Linked DNA regions of Homo sapiens: region 2 is linked to region 1. Evidence: promoter capture Hi-C in 16 types of primary human blood cells and fetal thymus (Javierre and others, 2016). All regions are on one chromosome and are shown on one strand. Each heading gives the region's core, a stretch centred on a gene start or on the middle of the fragment in contact. The rest is flanking DNA. Distances are from core to core; before and after follow the strand shown. Region 1 holds the start of COG3 (component of oligomeric golgi complex 3). Region 2 has its middle 50 kb from the start of GPALPP1.

Region 1 (6,499 bases), core at 2,662-5,161:
AATGCCTGCTGCTTACCAGCACTGTCCTGGCTTCCAGATGGAGCAGACAGACACCACTAGAGAGAGAACACAGTTCTAGATTGCTAATGGGCCAGTGCTGCAGAGCTACTGTATAGTTTATGCAAATGGAGACACTAACATTAAATAGTAAGTACAATAAATTCTCAAGCTTTGCCTGACCAGCTGAGCAGGTCCCTGAAATAACAAGTAACATACCTTTCTCTCCCAAGCTTTACTTCTTGCAGAGTTCTGGGTTGGAGAAAACCACTTTTATAATCAATCTGATCAATTAATTCCCTAAATGAAACCTGATGTTTTGTTCTCTGCTTGGAGCAAATTACTGAAGAGGTATAGGTGGAGTCTCAGAACCTTCCTCAAGGCACTTAACCTCTCCTTTTCTTACCTTTGGTCTGAATGACACCTATACCAGCTCAGCATCACAGGATTCTAATCTATTCTTTTAAGATGTTAATAATTTGAAAGAAAGCACAAGAATAATAGCAAGTAACTTGCCACGTGCACCTTGCATACGTGATTTCACATAATTCTCACAATTCCCTATGAGATAAGTACTCATCATGAGTTAAGTCCCCATTTTATAAAGAAGAAAATTAAGGCTTAGAAAAGATAAACATCACATCTAAGGTCACACAGCCTACAAGAAAACAACAGCTGTAACAGTAAATTATAGGTAAATGTCGGGGTAAATTATTTTAGCACTTTATCAAGAATTACTAAATTCAACAGAAAGAAATAGGCCCCTCACTACTAAGTTTGCCCTGGCTACAAAAGTCTACCTAATATTCTATTGTAAATTATTTTCTCTAATGCCAAAAAAGGCATAATTCCTTTTTAAGATAAGACTAGTTCTCTTTCATAAAAGAGAAAGCTATTTTCTAAAGAAGTTAACATCTTTATGATATGTACTTAAGAGTTAGTTGGCCTCTTGCTATTCTACTAGCCTGCTCAGTTCCAGTTGTTCAGGAAGTAATTTATCTCGTGAAAATTGTGAAACACTACAGAAAATCCTTGAGTTATACTGATTGGACAAAATGAAAATTGTGGCACTCTCTTTTGCTGCCAATGTTAAAAGAGTAGTATAGGGCTAAAAAAATTAATTCCAAAGTCTTCCCAACAGACATATAAACACTTCAGAAAAGGAAAATGAGGGCTGTAAAGCTGAAGAGCAATGAGAACTGCCTTCTCAAAGATTCCAGGATGTGTGCATAACCAGCTCGGCTACTGCATTCTTTTTGAGACAGAATCTTGCCTGTCACCCACCCAGGCTGGAGCGCAGTGGTGCAATCTCGGCTCAGGGCAATCTCTGCCTTCTGGGTTCAAGTGATTCTCATGCCTCAGCCTCCCAAGTACCTGGGATTACAGGCATGCACCACCACACCCAGCTAATTTTTATATTTTTAGTAGAGATGGTGTTTCGCCATGTTGGCCAGGCTGGTCTTGAACTCCTGACCTCAAGTGATTCTCCCGCCTTAGCCTCCCAAAGTGCTGAAATTACAGGCGTGGGCCACCGCACCTGGCCTCAGCTATTGCATTCTCACAGGAATCCAATACCAAGCTGCACGTACCAGAAGACCCTCACTGAATTCTTGAACTCATTAAGCTCATCCTCTACCCATGACCTTATGCTGTTCTTTCTTCCAGCTGCAATGTTATTTCTTTAGTCTTTATGAGGCTAGCTTCAGGTAGTCCATCATCAGTTCTCACCTCAGGCTGTCACTTCCTTGGAAAGGTCTTCCCTCTTTCTCTAAAAGGGCACACCTCATCCTTTTCTGTCACACCATCCTATCTGATTTTCCTTATATTATGGACCACCATCTGAACATACCTTCTTTGTTCTTTTTTTCCATGTTCATGATCCCCACAATTATGTCAGCTCTATGAGGCTAAGGATCTCATCTTTCCTATTTATCTTTCTATCTTCAATACCTAACTCAGAGTAGGGACATAACATATGTTAAAGACTGCATGTGGCTAATGATAAATATGGAAGAATGGGGTGAAAATGAAAGATTCCATTTAGTTCATTCCAAACGTTCTCCTTCATGCTCAATGAGAATAAGAAATAATAGTTTATGACCCATGACAATGAAAACAAATTTTTTTGTAGAATATGTATCTCCCCCATCACACCCTCAGTGCTATTAAGTCCAAGCATCCTGCTGCAGTAGGAGCCAAATCAATTATAAACAGACTGGAAAATTTATAGAGCAAACAACTTTTATTATCCAGGGTATAAAAGAGTTTGATAGCTGAGCCAAAGAAATTTCCACCTGCGCCTTCATTGATTTCAGATCCACTTCCGGTACCATATCCTAGAGGTGGAAAAAGAAACCCAAGAAAGAACGCCTATTTGATGGCTGAGCATACAACAGTGAATGTGAAGAGAACGTTTAAATCAAATCTCTAAAGTTGGAGGACAGAAAAAGTTGAAGACTCTAAACTCAATCTGCATTTGGACACAATTCCAAATCGTATAAAAAGAATGCTTCAGGCCAGGCACGGTGGCTCACGACTGTAATCCCAGCATTTTCGGAGGCCGAGGCGGGCAGATCACTTGAGGTCAGGAGTTCGAGAACAGCCTGGACAACAGGGCGAAACCCCATCTCTACTAAAAATACAAAAAATTAGCCGGGTGTAGTGGCAGGCACCTGTGATCCCAGCTACTCGGGAGGCTGAGACAGGAGAATCGCTTGAACCCGGGAGGTGGAGGTTGCAGTGAGCCGAGGTCACGCCACTGCACTCCAGCCTGGGCGACAGAGCGAGAGAAAAGAATGCTTCCAACATCAAAAGTAACCATCACCACTGCTTATATAAAATAATCCTCCTAAACCTGGCCCTCAAAACTGGAAAACGTTTGTCAAACATCTGACAATTCATGTTACTTCCTGCTATTACAACTAATTGAATTGAATCACACAAGAAGCAGTAGTGCATAATATCCTAATGGTAAGTGGATTAAACACATTGACTCTAACACCGAAAACCAGCACTGCTTAATAATGTACTGAGCCAACTTTCAAATAAAATTCATTTTTATTGCTTTGCAATAGGTGAAATAAATCTGATCTCCCATAACTTGCACTTGATTGAGAGCTCATAGTTCAATGTGCGATAAATGAAACTCACTCAGGACCAAGTTTTGGTCTCCCCAAGACCCCCATGGACAAAGCAACCTAGGTGAATCATTAAGGCGGTAAACGAGCACGCGCTGGAGACTGTCCTGCAGCACAGCACCTCGGGTTGACTGCCTCTCCTTCTGGGAGAGAGTGGGCAGCAGGATTACGCCTCGGCTGACAGGACGCCTCGTCTGGGGCAAAACGTTCGGTGCAAGGCTCCGGGCCAACCGTCCCATGCTGCTGGGGGAGGACTGGGTTCCGGCGAGCACCAGCTGCAGGACACCCCCACAGCCGTCCCCAGGCAGAATTAGAGTCGGGGTCGCAGGCAGAGCGAAGCCTGACAGCCTGGGAGATGAGGCCCCTCCCACCGGATCCGCCACCATGGCCAGGGAGGAGTGGAGAGATATCCTGGGCAGAGGCTAGTGAGGCCGGGGTCCTGCCGGGGCGCCCGAGGAGAATCCCAGCCCCATCGCCCCGGCCCGGTTCCTGCCCATCACCTCACCTCAGCTGGCACCGGCAAGTTCTCTGCCGCCGCCTTCAGCTCCAATACCGAGTCCGTCTGCCTGTCGGTCAGCGGCGCCGTCGTGTCCGGTCTCCGATCCCAGAGAGCCAGCTTTTCCCTAGCGTCCCGCTCCGCCGCCGCCTCAGGCAGCAGCAACAGCGCCGCCTCCGCCATCGCCGCCGCCCTCGCGGCCTTCAGCAGCAGCGAGATGGAGGGGACCCCGACAGAGAGACCTGGGCCACTTCCGGGAGAACCGGAGCTTCCAACACTGCACCGGCGGCGGGGCGGGACGGAATGCCCTGACCCCGGAAACGGTTCCGCAGTGTGGGGGGCGGGACCGAGGCCAGTACCGACGTGGCTTTAAATGGGTACGACTATTTCCGGTTGAAACGTAGAAGGTGGAGAAGACAGGACCCAATGGAAATAGAAATGCCCCTACCGGAAGTCTTTTCCTCAACATCAATAACTTTATTGTTACGTGTTGTACAGATTATTGACAACTGCGCTAAATCACCCTGCCGGCAGGAGACTTGGATCTACACCTCTCTGCTTACAGCTGGGTAGTCTGGGTAGAATGTGTGGAGTGTATGATTTCCATGTTGGCATGTTGACAATTTATGCCTCTTGGATCAAAACCAAAAGCATAAACTTTTCCAACATCCAGTAATTCCCCTACTAGAAAACTAATTTACGGAAACACATAAAAAATTCAAAGATGTGTGTATCTCAGACATCATTAATGGTATCAAATAACTGGAGACAACCTAAATGTCCAACATTGAAGAACTGGATCAAGAATTTGTGGCACAGACCAGGCGCGGGGGCTCAGGCCTGTAATCTCAGCACTTTGGGAGACCGAGGTGGGCGTATCACCTGAGGTCAGGAGTTTGAGACCAGACTGGCCAACATGGTTGAACCCCGTCTCTACTAAAAGCACAAAAATTAGCCAGGCGTGGTGGCACATGCCAGTAATCAGCCTGAGAGGCTGAGGCAGGAGAATCTCCTGAACCTGGAAGGTGGACGTTGCAGTGAGCAGAGATCTTGCCACTGCATTCCGGCCTGGGCATCAAGTGAGACTGTCTCAAAATGTATAATAATAATAATTTGTGGTACAGACATGTAATTCTACTCTACCATTTAAATCATATTGTAGATTTGAGCAACAAAATAAATAATGATAGTATTGGATCATAATTTACAGAATAAAATAAATACCCATGAGTCCATACTGCTATAAATAAACGATTGAATAAATAAATGGTGGAGAACAGACAATCTTCTACAAGTTATGGAGGCCTCTTCCTGCTCCTCCCTGGAGTCAAGGCAGGTGGAAACAGCTTCGTAGCAATTTTGACCATTGTCTGGGTAAAGTCTGAAGGCTTTATTCAGGCTTTATAGCACAAATCAGTGCCTGGCTATGTTCCCAAATGAAGGCTCTGATCTTTTAAGAGCAGAATTTGAGACCGGGCGCAGTGGCTCACACCTGTAATCCCAGCACTCTGGGAAGCCGAGGTGGGCGGATTACCTGAGGTCGGGAGTTCGAGACCAGCCTGATCAACATGGAGAAATCCCGTCTCTACTAAAAATACAAAAAAACTTAGCTGCGCGTGGAGGTGCATGCCTGTAATCCCAGCTACTCGGGAGGCTGAGGCAGGAGAATCGCTTGAACCCAGGAGGCGGAGGTTGCTGTGAGCCAACGTTGCACCATTGCACTCCAGCCTGGGCAACAAGAGCTAAACTCTGTCTCAAAAAAAAAAAGAATAGAATTTGAAGTTGGAAGAGAATTTTAAAATCATATAATCAAGCCCTTTCTGTCTACAGAGGAGCAAACTACAACCCGTAGAGGTGAAGCAAGCAGCCTAACATCCTGCAATCAGGTGGTTAACATCAGCGTCACCACTGGAACTTAGATATCCTGACTGTGTCTGACACCCTTTATATACCACAGCTTCTCCAAGTTGCCTGCTGTACAAAGCCCTTAAAAAATCTGCAGATCCCCAATGTTGATGTAAATAATTGTATTATATTGCTTAAGTATGAACAAAAATAAGACTTGACATAAGCTTTGGATGTTTATACCAAAATAGACATGCAAGTTACATGCCAACAGAAATATAACTAACATATAACGGTATATAACCAATAACATTCACATTAACAACTCAAGTGAGATGTGGGATATTATTTTGCTGGAAAACGAAATTGCTTCTGGCAACACGAAGACAGTCCTGACTACTGCTATACAGCTGCTTGGGAGTTCATCACACTTCTGTTATACCAGCAGCATGCTGTGTTCCCCACCATTTGAACTACTGGGAACACTTGACTCAGGGTAAATCCCTAATACCATTTTTCCTTTATCTGGCTTGTATATATCATTTGCATATTAAAACAACCCTGCTGTTTTTAGTAGCTTTATTAAAAATATTCTATATGCACAAACAAGGAGGGTGGAAGCTGAAATCATGTGGTAATCCTAAACTATAAAACTGTCATGTTGGTGATCCAGAATATGCATGAATATAGTTTTAAGAGTTGAAATGAGGCTGGGTGTGGTTGCTCACGCCTGTAATCCCAGCACTTTGGAAGGCTGAGGCGGGCGGATCATGGGGTCAGGAGATCGAGACCATCCTGGCTAACATGGTAAAACCCAGTCTCTACTAAAAATACCAAAAATTAGCCGGGCGTGGTGGCAGGCACCTGTAGTCCCAGCTACTCGGGAGGCTGAGGAAGGAGAATGGCATGAACCCGGGAGGCGGATCTTGCAGTGAGCTGAGATTGTGCCACTATACTCCAGGCTGGGCAACAGAGCGAGACTCTGTCTCAAAAAAAAAAAAAAGAGTTGAAATGAAAACAAATA
Region 2 (6,499 bases), core at 2,540-5,039, 430 kb after region 1:
AACCTCTACTCCAACAAATTGAATATGCCAGGTCTGATCTCCCTTAACTTTCTGGCCCTCTACTTCCAAGCTTATCACTGCCCATAACCATCTTTATCTGCTCTTCTCTGGGTTTGGAGGAGGTTGGGCCCCTCTCCCTGTTTATTCTGGGCCAACCCACTATACATCATCCTGTAACTCTAGCCTTCCCGTTGGATCTGTTTTCTCTCTTAGTTACTCCAGCTCTCCCCTTCCATTGCTTCTTCTTTTCAAACTGGCTTCTCTCACTCCTGAATGTACACATAACAACAGCAGCAACAACACCCACAGGCCACTTTGTATTCCTCTCTCGTTCTGTCTGTTTTCAGCTCATCTCTAGCCATTCCTAGTGCCTCTCCTCTGTGACCTCAATCAGTGTCCTGCGCATATCTCTGTTCTCTGCTCACCACATTGCATAATTAGAGCTATTTCTGTGTCTCTGTCTCTCCCATTGGACTGTGAAGCTGAGGACCATGTCTTTTATATTTATCTCCAGACCAGTCTCACACATTGTGGAAGCTCGATAAATATTTGTAGACAAGAACTACTCATCAATTCAGTTGTTCTCTAGAACTTCTTTTCTTACCATGTTTTTTCTTGAGGTATCAAAACTAGAATAAGAAACAGGTTTTTGTTTTTGTTTTTTGAGACAGAGTCCTGTTCTGTCGCCCAGGCTGGAATGCAATGACACGATCTCAGCTCACTGCAACCTCTGCCTCCTGGGTTCAAGTGATTCTCATGCCTCAGCCTCCTAAGTAGCTGGGATTACAGGCGTGAGCCACCATGCCCAGCTAATTTTGTGTTTTAGTAGAGATGAGGGTTTCACCATGTTGGCTACACTGGTCTCAAACTCCTGACCTCAGGCGATCCACCAGCCTTGGCCTCCCAAGGTGCTGGGATTACAGGTGTGAGCCACTGCATCCAGCCAAGAAACAGTTTTCTAGATAGATCCACCATAGGTTTGTCCAAGTGTAGCACTTTTTTTTTTCTTTTGTATTTCTTTTCTCTCTTCTATTATCCAATATTCTACTAGCTTTTTTTTTGGCTATAGCTACACCCCCCCCGCTTTTTTTTGCATTATTACTGAGAACTCAAAACTCACACTCTAATAGGTATAATTTGTATTATTAAATGCCTAAATTAATGTCATTATTGCTCACACTGAAGTTCAACTGCTTACTAGGCAGTATAAACAAAGCTCATTTAGGGATATTTACCTATGTAAGAAAAAAAATACCTTCCCTTTTTTTTTTTTGAGACAGAGTCTTGCTCTGTCACCCAGGCTGGAGTGCAGTGGCATGATCTTGGCTCACTGCAACCTCCGCCTCCTGGGTTCAAGTGATCCTCCTGCCTCATCTGCCCAAGTAGCTGGGACTACAGGGATGTGTCACCATGTTTGGCTAATTTTTGTATTTTTGGTAGAGATGGGGTTTTGCCATCTTGGCCAGGCTGGTCTTGGACTCCTGACCTCAAGTGATCCCCCTGCCTCTGTCTCCCAAAGTGCTGGGATTACAGGTGGGAGCCACCACGCCTGCCCTTCTATTCTCTTTAGAATAATACATTTACAAGTTATCTAATGGCCATGTATGGGAGGCCAGCAGGATTATAGCATCACATTTGATTGCTAATTATAAACAACCATTTATTAAATACCTACCTCTCTACAATGCTTTAACAATTCCTTTTCGAACTACTCTATGTCAGGCTTTTTACTGATTGTAGTTTCTTTCTTCCTCTTTATGTTTTTACCTACCCAGAATACATTATCTTCTTTTGGTAACAATACCTCCAGTTTCCTTTAGGGAAACATTGTGGTACACAGAGGCTAGAGAACTGCAGAACAAGCTGAGGAATCCAGTGGCCTACCAGTGCCCTCAACCAATGATAATGGTTAGCTGGGAGCAGCTAACTCTAGACCCCTTGAGCTTGAAGTGACGGTGAATCTGGTTTTGACTTTGGCTAACCTCTCTCCAAGCCTCCTGTCATTGGACATCTCATATCCAAGAGACACGATTAATTGGCAGAGTTAAGCAGGCTTCCTTGCTATTGATTGGGTTGGAGCTGGTAATCCTTCATATTTTTTTCATTTCCCTTTCTTTTTTTTTTTAGATGGAAAGGCTAAATAAATCATTTTGAATTGTACTGTGATTTATAAATTGCAGCAGAATGTGGTGAATAAACTGTGACAGCTCATTTCTCATCTACCTTGTTTGTGCTAAATGTACTTCTTGATGTCAGAGGATGTGATGGAAGCAAATCAGGAGGGAGGAGCAGGCATTTTAGAAACAACGCCATCTTACTGGGTGGCACCCACCCTGGCTGAGTCATCTCTGAAGCATGTCGATGTGTGCATGTGCCCCATCCCCTCTGCACATGAAAATTCATAACCATGAGACAGGACTAGCAGATATCTAATGAAAAGGGGGTTCACAATGGCCAGATGCTAACATTGGTAAACCTGAGATGAATGGACAGGTTAGGTGGGTGAGACCGCAGTTTGGTAAACACAATGTTGGTATTCTCATTAGAAAACTGGTGGGAATCAAAGGTGAGACGGAGCCATAGCATCAGATGTTTTTGCCTTTATAGTATGTGTAATCTTTGTTTCCAATGATAACATTTCCACTTTCTTTTAGGGAACTACCCTGCCAAGTTTTTGTTCTAGGTGGTTTAGATAGAGTTTAACCCACCCTTTGGCTCCATGGGTAGAGACAGGAACTAGCCTGGGCTATTGGGTGTTTTATCTCCTGTCCATGTGATTGATTTAGGGTGAACAAGTGACCAAAGATGAGCCAATCAGCATCAGTTCTTGGACTTTGGCAGGAAAGAGCAGCTTTCTTTTCACTGGTTGGTTAAACTGGCAGAACGTCACTTTAGACATGCTGCTATCAAGCTTGTCACTGTCTAGGAAGCCCACCTGAGGATGAAATTCACACAAAGGAAGGCAGGCTGAGGAAGAGAGACAGAATCCTGTGACACATTTTGGGCACCCAGATCCAGTTGTGCCTAAAGCCAGGGCTACAGTCTGGACTTTTCATTACATGAGTGAATAAATCTTTATCTTCTTTTTTCTTTTTTTTTGCTTCCTTTTTTTCCTTTTAACTTGTTTTTGTTTTTTATTATTTTTATTTAAAAAAAAATCTTTTATTTTTAATTAGTTTCTTGAGAAGGGGTCTCACTCTTGTCGCCCAGGCTGGAGTCCAGTAGCGTCAACATGGCTCACTGCAGCCTCAACTTCCCGTCTCAGTCTCCCAAGTAGCTGAGATTACAGGCTCACACCACCATGTCCAGCTAATTTTTGTTTGTTTTTGTTTTTTTTTTTTTTGAGATGGAGTCTCACTCAGTTGCCCAGGCTGGAGTGCAGTGGCCCAATCTTGGCTCACTGCAACCTCCGCCTCCCCGGTTCAAGTGATTCTCCTGCTCAGCCTCCCAAGTAGCTGGGACTACAGGCACCTGCTACCACGCCCGGCTAATTTTTTGTATTTTTAGTGGAGACAGGGTTTGACCGTGTTAGCCAGGATGGTCTCAATCTCCTGACCTCGTGATCTGCCCACCTCGGCCTCCCAAAGTGTTGGGATTACAGGCGTGAGCCACCGCACCCGGTCCCTAGCTAATTTTTAAAAATTTTTTGTACAGACGTGGTCTCCTATGTTGCTAAGGCTGGTCTTGAACTTCTGGCCTCAAGCAGTCCTCCTGCCTTGGCCTCCCAAAGTGCCGGAATTACAGGTGTGAGCCACTGTGCCTGGCCACATGAGTGAATAAACTATCTTTTTTTGATTAAGCCAATTTGAGTTGAGTTGCTATCACTTACTGCAAAGAGTCCCAATACAGGAATCTTCTGAGGTTGTAAGAAATAAGTGAGCCTGTTTACCAGAGTTGTCTGAGTGCATCTAATAGCCAGGGGGCTACAATAACGACACCATCATTTATTGCTGGATTTTGTGCTAATTATTTAAATATGTCATCTCATGTAATCCTGGTAACATCTTGTGAGTTATTATTGCCCATTTAAGAGACAAATAAATTACAGCTGAAATAGGTTAAGAACCTTTCTCAGGTTTACAAAGCTAGTGTTTACATAGGAATTGACTGCAGGCTGCTGTCTCCAAAGTTTATACCATGGTTAACTGGCATGGTATAACTTCCGTATGTTAGTCAGGGCTTAGTTGCAAACAAAGTAGTATACTCTGATTAGTTTAAGCTGACCAGAAGTTATATAAGCAGGAATATATCCACCCACACTGCAATGCTCCTCTAGAGAAACCCCAGTCTCACAGCCACAGCAGTTGACACCACTGATGCTTGGGACTGGGTGCCAGACATGCCGCCTCTGCTGCTGTTGAAGATCAGTCCGTGTCCACTAATATGCCCATCAGAAGACGATTCTGGGAATGCCAACTTCTTCCCTTATCTCTTGGAATACCAACTGCACGTGGGTGCATCTGATTGGCAGAGGCCAGGCCACATACTTGTGCTCTAGCAGCAAGGGAGCCTAGGAAAATGAGTTTTGCCTTCTATCTTTTGAATCAAGAGGCTCAGTGGCCACAATCTGACAACCATCCAACATCTTTGATTCTAGAAATCTTAATCTTGATTCTATTAATGTTAGACTCTAAACTGTGGTTTGACTGCAAACATTTTAAGCTTTAAGAACCTCTAGAAATGTCATGTTCAGACCAAACCAAGTTGGATTCTCATACTTCAGGGTACACAGAATCACCTGGGCAGCTTGCCCAAAATAGACGGCCCAACCATCTATTGGGCCCAACCCCAAACCTATAGATGGAATCAAAACTTCTGATTGGCTGGGCATGGTGGCTCACACCTGTAATTCCAGCACTTTGGGAGGCTGAGGTGGGCAGATCACTTAAGACCAGGAGTTTGAGACTAGCCTGGCAAACATGGTGAAAACCCCGTCTTTACTCACAGACAATAGCCTGGTGTGGTGGTGCATGCCTGTAGTCCCAGCTACTCAGGAGGCTGAGGCAGGAGAATCGCTTGAGCCTGGGAGGCAGAAGTTGCAGTGAGCCAAGATGTGTACCACTGCACTCCAGTCTGGGCAACAGAATGAGACTCTGTCTCCAAAAAAACAAAACAAAACAAAATCCTCTGGAAGGTTAGGGCATCTATGTTTGTAATAAGCTCCCAGGGGATTCTGATTCACATCAAAGTTGGAAAGACATCGATTTTGCTGACTAAATTGGTCATCATTTTTGTTCAACTATCACCTTCCATTCACCTAAGCCTAGATATTACTCAGTTCTGGTAAATACTCAATAAAGATGCAGCCCCACTGTGTGTTCACATAAGCTCACTGGAAAGACTATAAATGTGATTTTAAAAAGCTCTTTATGATTTGCTGGTAGAAAGAAATATTCTGAAACCATCTTTTCATGTCATTTTCTTAGAGGCAACACAGTATAATGGATTGATTAGCATCTTACAAACTGACAGGTTAAAAGATAGTTTTAAATCTTTATTGATAAACTGTCATTTGACTGCAAGCATTTTAAACTTTAAGAATCTCTGTTTTCAAATATGACAATTTTATTAAGCAATATACAAGGCTGTTAGGGAAAAACACTAATTTAAATTCAGTTAAAATGAATACTAAAGAATAAGCACAATTTCTAGATTTATTTGCTGGTCAATATTAAGTTAATTATGTCTGTACCTGTTATAAAAATTAGCAATCTTAGGCTGATGATAAATTGCTTTTGTTAAGTGTGTAGTGTGAATTAGGTATTATAGTATTATTTATCCTTAGGTTAGCAAAATGTGTTGCTTTCAGCCATTACCTAAAAAGACAAAAATCATCATATTATATACATAAGCAACTTCATTTGTTGTTTTGTACCTAGTGATAAAAAAGGAACAAGTTTATTTTCATCTCAGAGCTCTGATTGTATGAAGATAAAACTAGGACTAAATACTTTATCATATAGCCTGTTTGGCCAACATTACCCCATCATAAAGAAAACAAATGGAAGTGCTTTAAAGGGCAGGACAGCGGTAAGTAATCAGAGATATGAAAATGAACTTTGAAATACTTTTCAATATTCTTGAATAGGTTCTCGAAATTTGTCTAGATCTCAAAACAATGATGCACCCTTGTAGCTTTTATTGTCTTTCCTACCTAGTTCTGCAGAATTTTATTGCTTTCTTTTTTTCTCTTTTAGAGATGGGGTCTCTCTGTCTCCCTGGCTGGAGTGCAGTGGCATGTTCATAGCTCACTGCAGCCTTGAACTCTTGGGCTCAAGTGATCCTCCTGCCTTAGCTTCCTGAGTAGCTGGGACTACAGATGCATGCCATGCCACCATGCCCAGATAATTTTTAATTTTTATTTTTTTGTAGAGACAGGGTCATGCCACGTTGCCCAGGTTGGTCTTGAACTCCTGGCCCTCAAGTGATCCTCCTGTCTTGGCCTCTTGAAGTGCTGGGATTACAGATGTGAGGCATTGTGCCTGGCCTTTTGTTTCTT

The links. The method cuts DNA at HindIII sites, captures the fragments that hold promoters and counts their contacts. A CHiCAGO score of 5 or more calls a contact.
Region 2: a fragment that was not itself captured here is called in contact with the fragment with the promoter of COG3 in region 1 in 1 of 17 cell types (total CD8 T cells); the score reaches 5.4 in total CD8 T cells.

Annotation. Positions count from the first base shown.
Region 1 is chr13:45,462,351-45,468,849 of GRCh38, reverse strand. COG3 (component of oligomeric golgi complex 3) reads right to left here and starts at 3,911. Exons shown (of 23, transcript NM_031431.4): 1 at 3,640-3,911. The coding sequence starts at 3,813. The HindIII fragment of the contact is 5,472 bases long and covers 233-5,704 here.
Region 2 is chr13:45,036,652-45,043,150 of GRCh38, reverse strand. It overlaps a transcript of GPALPP1 not described here. Among named protein-coding and RNA genes, the nearest start is that of GPALPP1, 50 kb to the right of the region's middle. The HindIII fragment of the contact is 1,751 bases long and covers 2,914-4,664 here.